Regions from separate parts of the Homo sapiens genome. Here region 1 is linked to region 2. The links are contacts of gene promoters, found by promoter capture Hi-C in human tissues and cell types (Jung and others, 2019). All regions are on one chromosome and are shown on one strand. Each heading gives the region's core, a stretch centred on a gene start or on the middle of the fragment in contact. The rest is flanking DNA. Distances are from core to core; before and after follow the strand shown.

Region 1 (4,209 bases), core at 412-2,911, 46 kb after region 2:
GCAAGCCTATCAGGAATGTGTAAGAGACTTCACACATATATATACATACACATTCTTTCCAACAACTGGTATGGTTATATGTTTTAAGCTTTGCAATGAAATCAATGTCAAATGGAACCTTCTTGTGGTTTTGATTTCTATGCCCTTTAGCTCTACAGATGTGGACCTTCACCATGTTTACTAGGCACACATCTTTTCTCTTTCCGTGACATACTCATCCATGTGTTTTGCCTATTTATTTTTTTACTTAACTATTTTGTGTGATTTTTGTTATTTAATTTTAGGGATGTGTAATATATTATTTGCAATAATTCTTCATCAGTTGTGGGAACTGCAATTTCTTCTTTCAGTTTATAATTTGTCTTATTGCTGAATATTACATATCTTCTGATGCTTAAAAGTTTTTAATGTTATTATAGTCAAATATTGAATATTTTCTATTATATTAAAGCACTTATTGTTTTTTGTTTAGAAACTTTTTCCCTATTCCACTGTTTAAAATATGTTGAACTACATTTCCTACCAATAATTTTAAATTTTTTTCGTCATTTATGTCTCTAATTCATTTAGAATTTTTTGTAGAGTAACGATGGGGTTTATAGAGTGACAATTTGTATAATTTTCTATTACTGCATTAATACTACAGTCTTTTAATTACTAAATCTTTATAACTAGTTCTATCTATCCCTAGAGCAAGTCTTTTTACCTTTTATTTTTTTTTATAGTTGACAAGCTTTACTTGGCCCTTTATATTTTATATAAATTTTAAAATTATTTTATCATGTATATTATTTTATTATGAAAAACTGCAGAAATTTAATGCGAATCTAATTGAAAGTTTAGATGCAGCATTGACTGCTTTATGCTACAAACTCTTTCCAACTTTTACTATGCTGGGTTTATTCATTTATTTAGTTCTCCTTTAGTACCCCTGAATAATGTGGTATAATTTCCCAGGTAGAGAGCTTACTAACTTTTATTTCTAGGTACTTGGTATTTTCTGATATTAGTAAAAGTAATATCTTCCAGTAGGGTTTACTAGTTGTTTGTTCTTAGTACAGGAAAAACACAATTAAATTTTGTATATTAGTCTTATATCTAACCACATAAATTTTATTTTTTTCTGTAGTAATATTAGGGGTTTCCATATAAATAATTATATTTATATTATTTATATTTGTGTAGTTATAATTATTTACATTAAAACAATTTATCTTTATTTTATCTTTGTAATAAAATAAAATAAATCTTTATTAATCCAGATTTGTAAATCTTTATAAATAAAATAAATATTTATAATAAAACATAAATTGTACACATAAGGATTAGAAAGAAGGAAATAAACTATTTGTCTGAAATAGTATAATTATTGCTGAGACATCAAATATAACGTTGAAAAAGAGCAGTGATGATATCTTTTCTTTACTTCTCATTTTTAAAAGCACCTTTAATATTTTTTCATTAAAGATATCTTTTTTATTTTAAAGATATTTGTTGGGTTAAAAATATTATCTTCTATTTCTAATATACCATGAGTTGTATTTCTTAACTCTGAAGAAATATTTCTATCAATTTGTCTCTGCGTCTGAGGTGATTATATAAGTGTTGTTTTTTAATTTGTTAATGTGAATCTCACGGATATTTTTGGTAATATGATTATTTTGTCTTTTTTAGTATTGGTTAGGAAGTATTTCCTATTTTTAATGTCTTTAAAAGGCTTTGTAGAAAAATGAGATTATGGGTTGCTTTAAAGTATGGTAGAAGTTAAACGCGAAACCATGTAGAACTAGTGGTTTCCTACATTTTATTTGAGGGGTGTGTGTGTGTGTTTGGATGTGTAGGTTTGTGTTTGTGTGTGTGTGTGTTGTGTTTTGAGAGATTTTTTTCTTTTTTTTAATTTATTTATTATTATTATACTTTAAGTTTTAGGGTACATGTGCACAATGTGCAGGTTAGTTGCATATGTATACATGTGCCATGCTGGTGCGCTGCACCCACTAACTCGTCATCTAGCATTAGGTATATCTCCCGATGCTATCCCTCCCCCCTCCCCCCACCCCACAACAGTCCCCAGAGTGTGATGTTCCCCTTCCTGTGTCCATGTGTTCTCATTGTTCAATTCCCACCTATGAGTGAGAATATGCAGTATTTGGTTTTTTGTTCTTGCGATAGTTTACTGAGAATGATGATTTCCAATTTCATCCATGTCCCTACAAGGGACATGAACTCATCATTTTTTATGGCTGCATGGTATTCCATGGTGTATATGTGCCACATTTTCTTAATCCAGTCTGTCATTGTTGGACATTTGGGTTGGTTCCAAGTCTTTGCTATTGTGAATAATGCCGCAATAAACATACGTGTGCATGTGTCTTTATAGCAGCATGATTTATAGTCCTTTGGGTATATACCCAGTAATGGGATGGTTGGGTCAAGTGGTATTTCTAGTTCTAGATCCCTGAGGAATCGCCACACTGACTTCCACAATGGTTGAACTAGTTTACAGTCCCACCAACAGTGTAAAAGTGTTCCTATTTCTCCACATCCTCTCCAGCACCTGTTGTTTCCTGACTTTTTAATGATTGCCATTCTAACTGCTGTGAAATGGTATCTCATTGTGGTTTGGATTTGCATTTCTCTGATGGCCAGTGATGGTGAGCATTTTTTCATGTGTTTTTTGGCTGCATAAATGTCTTCTTTTGAGAAGTGTCTGTTCATGTCCTTTGCCCACTTTTTGATGGGGTTGTTTGTTTTTTTCTTGTAAATTTGTTTGAGTTCATTGTAGATTCTGGATATTAGCCCTTTGTCAGATGAGTAGGTTGTGAAAATTTTCTCCCATTTTGTAGGTTGCCTGTTCACTCTGATGGTAGTTTCTTTTGCTGTGCAGAAGCTCTTTAGTTTAATTAGATCCCATTTGTCAATTTTGGCTTTTGTTGCCATTGCTTTTGGTGTTTTAGACATGAAGTCCTTGCCCATGCCTGTGTCCTGAATGGTAATGCCTAGGTTTTCTTCTAGGGTTTTTATGGTTTTAGGTCTAACGTTTAAGTCTTTAATCCGTCTTGAATTGATTTTTTGTATAATGTGTGAGGAAGGGATCCAGTTTCAGCTTTCTACATATGGCTAGCCAGTTTTCCCAGCACCATTTATTAAATAGGGAATCCTTTTTCCATTGCTTGTTTTTCTCAGGTTTGTCAAAGATCAGATAGTTGCAGATATGCAGCGTTATTTCTGAGGGCTCTGTTCTGTTCCATTGATCTATATCTCTGTTTTGGTACCAGTACCATGCTGTTTTGGTTACTGTAGCCTTGTAGTATAGTTTGAAGTCAGGTAGTGTGATGCCTCCAGCTTTGTTCTTTTGGCTCATGATTGACTTCGTGAGTGGGCTCTTTTTTGGTTCCATATGAACTTTAAAGTAGTTTTTTCCAATTCTGTGAAGAAAGTCATTGGTAGCTTGATGGGGATGGCATTGAATCTGTAAATTACCTTGGTCAATATGGCCATTTTCACGATATTGATTCTTCCTACCCATGAGCATGAAACCACAGCTTCAATTTCTTTAACAGTTTAGGCTTTTTATTTTTTCTAGAGTTAGTTCTGATAAGATACACTTTTAAGTAATTTGTTCATTTTGGCTAAGTTTTCAGAGCTGTTGACATTCAGTTATTTGCTGTCTACTTTTGTTATTTTTTAATCTCTACTTTGACTATATGTATTGTATCTTCTTTGTTCAATATTTGCATCATTTTTGTCTTTTATTTTTTCTCCATTAACTTTACAAAACTTTTGCCTATTATGCTAGGTTATTTTTCAAAGAACTGACTTTTGATGTGGTTTATCTTCTCTGTTTTATCTTTTTGTTCCTTTTTCATTGTTTCTTATTCTTGTTTTCATCATTTCTTTTATTTTTATTTCCTTGATCCTATTCTAATACATCTCCAAAGCTACAAATTATTCCTAAAGCACGGCTGTTGCTGTATCTCAAAGCATATATATTTAATATTTTCAACATATTTCTAAGAATAATGATAAAGAATTGTTGCAATTTCTTCCAAGCTCATAATATTTTTAGCACTCTATTTTTTTATTCCTAAATCTGAAAACTATTTTTATTTGTGTTTTGGTTAACTTCTAAGTTAATTGTATTGTGATCAAAGATCATTATATGTAATAACTTTGTTTTTGTAATGTGTTGAGGCTTTCATTGTCTGT
Region 2 (3,671 bases), core at 814-3,313:
TTCCCTCATTCCTTCCTCCCTCCCTCCCTCCGTTCATTCCTTCCTTCCTTCCTTCCTCCCTCCCTACCTCCCTCCCTACCTCCCTCCCTGCCTCCCTCCTTCCTTCTTTCTCTCCCTCCTTTCCTTTACTTCTTCCTCCTCCTGTCTTTATAATTAATGCCATTCAAAAAAGGAACTGAAATGGCTAATGGCATCTTATATTGAGTTTTATGCTTTTCAAAATATGTTCACACTACCTTCTTGAATCCCCACAATAATTCTATCAAGTAGGTATTATCTTCCACATAAAATCAAAAGACTACGAACATTAAAATGACTTGTTAGAAATCACACAGTAACTTAATAGAAGGACTGGGCTGGAACGCAGGGCTCCTAACTCCTAGACCAGTGTTCTTTTAAACATCGCCCTTTGTTATTAGCTAGCTCAATGACAGGATTTTGTAGAAATGATAGGTAAGCTTAAAAGCAGGAAATGTAACTGTGGCAGCAGTCCTAGGAAATGCTACAGTTATCTTCTGAAACAGCCTGCCAAACAGTGTGGAGTCATGGCGGGCTCCCAAGGACAGCGTGATGATTCCTCTTGGGCCTCTTCACCTGGTGTCAGGTTATCTTGGTAATAACTGGGGTGAACTAGGCCCTCCACTGGGCTCTGACATTTTGCCTGCCACTTGTGCACACTGAAAGGCATGACATTTCTTACACCTTTGAAAACATCAGGGAAAATCAAAGAAATTTCTCTCATTCTGAACTTTACCTCTGCTGGGCCAAAAGGTTTGCTGCCAGGGCAGTAATAAAAGCAAGAAAGGGGAGAGTTCCATAAAGAAGAGATAAGTGGAATGGATTTATGGGCTGAAATAACAATCAACCAATGACCACACTAGTTAAATTGTCTTCTTCAATACCTGCACTCTATACTATGCCTTTCTTATGTAAAGAATAAACAAAACCTTTTTTTTTCTGTTTCAAGATAATCTTGATTTTCATTGTGTGTAATTAAGGAGTACAACGTGATATTCTTTGGATTGATGCACAGCAGATACACATATTTTCAAGTCACGTGATAATTTAATACATTCACATAATTTGTGTACTTGGGATATCAATCAACTTACATATTTGTATTTTCTTTGTGCTAGAAACATTCAAATTTTTCTCTTCTAGCTATTTTTAAATGTACAATAGATTATCATAAGCTATAGTCACTTCACTGATCTATAGAACATTAGATGTTATTTCTTCTATCAAACCAAATATTTGTACCCATTAATCAACTTCTCTTTATCCAACTTCTTTCCTCAGCCACCCTTCCCGGCATCTCGTAACCATGAATCTACTCTCTATCTTTATGAGATCCACTGTTTTAGCTTCCGCATACAAGTACAAACGCAAAATGCTCTTTTGATAAACTTATGCATAGTGAAGCAGTGACTACAGTCAAGCAAATTCATATATCTATCATCTCACAGAGTTAATCATCTTTTGTGTGCGTGTAACAAGAGCCCTTAAAATCTACTCTTTTAGCAAAAATCCTGAATACAAATAATTTTATTAATTATGTTCTTTGTTCTGCACACTAGATCTTCTAGACTTATTCATTCTGCATATCTGCTCCTTTGTATAAAGGATAAACAAAAACTTTAAAGTACTTCTCTCTTCTGTCCTTCCAAGCCTACTAAGCACGTGGCATCCTCCCAGATAGAGAACCAACTCATTCACACACATAGTTGGCTGTTGTTTCACTCCGAAAGAGTTGATTTGAAATTATTTGACTGCATTAACTGAACTGATAACCAGCTGATCATTGCTACAGATAATGGGATTTCTTCAAGGCATAGAGAAAGTCGTAACAATCCGATCTAGAATTATGATTTTTTTGACTATTCATATTGTAGGCCCCAGCCATCTCCAGTTGTGTATTCATTCACAACCCATGAGCTGGCACCGGGGGATTGGCAGACCCTTGTTCCTGGAACTTCTCACTGGTTATCACGCCTAATGTTGGAACACTGTGGTACAGTGAACTCTGATTCCTGGAATTGTTACCAGGCGACCACGGCGTCATCAAATGACCTGGCAATTCCGTCTACTGATGTCTCGAACATGTTTCAGACTAAGCTACGAAATGAAACTTGGGAAGACTTGCCAAAAATGTCCTGCACAACTGAGATCCAAGCAGCATTCATTCTCTCTTCCTTTGTGACCTTCTTCAGTGGACTCATCATCCTGTTGATCTTCAGGCTGATCTGGAGATCTGTTAAAAAATGGCAAATCATCAAGGGAACAGGAATTATCTTGGTCAGTTTCCTTGTTAGGGATCCCTCTGTGTGAAGTCAGAGATGAGTTTGGGGTAGTTTTGTGTTTAGTAAAAGATCTAAGCTTCATTCAGTTTTTCAAGCTAACAGAGTCAGCTTCTATAGCCTGGTGCCTCAGAAAGGGTGGTAAGCCAGACCTCAGGCCACATTCTGAGGCCTGAAGAGACAGGGCCAAGCCTCTTCTCTCTCCCATCACTGGAAAAAGCAATGTCTTGTATGGATAATGATTAATGTTAGCTCTGGAAACAGAGGTCACTGTTCTGAAAAAAAGTTCATAAACATTATGTCCATGCCTCTATCTCGAATTTTAACAAGACAATTGTGCTAGGTCATAGAAAGGAGGTGAAAGGGAACAAGACATCAACATCAACCTTGCTTTCATAAATTGTTCATGCATAATGCATATGTACTGACGTGTACATTGCCTTTTGTATACCATATGAAGACAACACATTGAGTTGCACATACACAGAGAAGCCCATGCATACATGCCTGTGCCATCCAGGCATAGATGCAAGGACATTTCTTATACCCAAACAAGCTTAGCAGGAGTTGATGTTGTTGAATAACAGCTGGCAAATGATGATGATGAGAATAAATGATGTATTATACAGATAAGGCATTGCTTAAGAGCTTGAAATAAAGCTCTCAAATGCTGTGTAATGGATGTTCTATTACCAGAGGTCAAAGGTGAAGAGTTTTACTATACCCTGTGTAGTTTGTTTCCAATTTTGCTTCCCAAACTTTCTTTCTCTGATAGATTATAGCAATTTCCATAACACAACACATTTCACCTGTGCATCATAATATTGAAAATTTGCTTAAAACATTTCTTTTAGTGCTAAAACCTACATAAAATATAATTCATAAATTGATAAGTTTTTAAAGTTATTGGTAATATGGAATTTTGTTTTCCATATTTGAAAATTATCCAATACTGAAGCTTATAGATTTTGTTCCTAAACAAGTTTATTCTATTGATTATTTCTACATTATGGATTTTAAGCTGTGGCACAATAATTGGAGAAAGAATTCTGGGATACTGACATATGGGTAAATAGCTATGATGGATCTGCCTCCTTGTTTCTACCTTGTTTTGTTGTTGTTAATGCACAACTGAATTTGTAGGATTTTTAAATCTTCTTAGTCTTCTGCTCCAGGCAATGTTCTTCTTCTCCATTATGTTCATTTTGTGTGATTACAAAAATGTGACAGTACATTTGTCAATTTCCTATATTTTTCATTTCTTACTTTGGGTGTAATTTATGTCTACACTTCGATCCAGGTATACCCTTTAATTACAAATATTTAGCAAATGTTACAAAATGTTAAGAAGTGAGCCTGAGCAACCAGAATGCT

The links. Contacts are between HindIII fragments. The study calls those that stand out against the background at their distance.
Region 1: a contact is called between a fragment that was not itself captured here and the fragment with the promoter of KCNU1 in region 2, in 1 of the 25 tissues and cell types used here (liver).

The regions. Positions count from the first base shown.
Region 1 is chr8:36,828,861-36,833,069 of GRCh38, forward strand. All of the region lies in intron 10 of KCNU1 (potassium calcium-activated channel subfamily U member 1), which reads left to right. Among named protein-coding and RNA genes, the nearest start is that of KCNU1, 47 kb to the left of the region's middle. The HindIII fragment of the contact is 6,698 bases long and covers 1-4,209 here.
Region 2 is chr8:36,782,311-36,785,981 of GRCh38, forward strand. It overlaps KCNU1 (potassium calcium-activated channel subfamily U member 1), which reads left to right and starts at 2,064. Exons shown (of 27, transcript NM_001031836.3): 1 at 2,064-2,295. The coding sequence starts at 2,101. The HindIII fragment of the contact is 3,588 bases long and covers 1-2,614 here.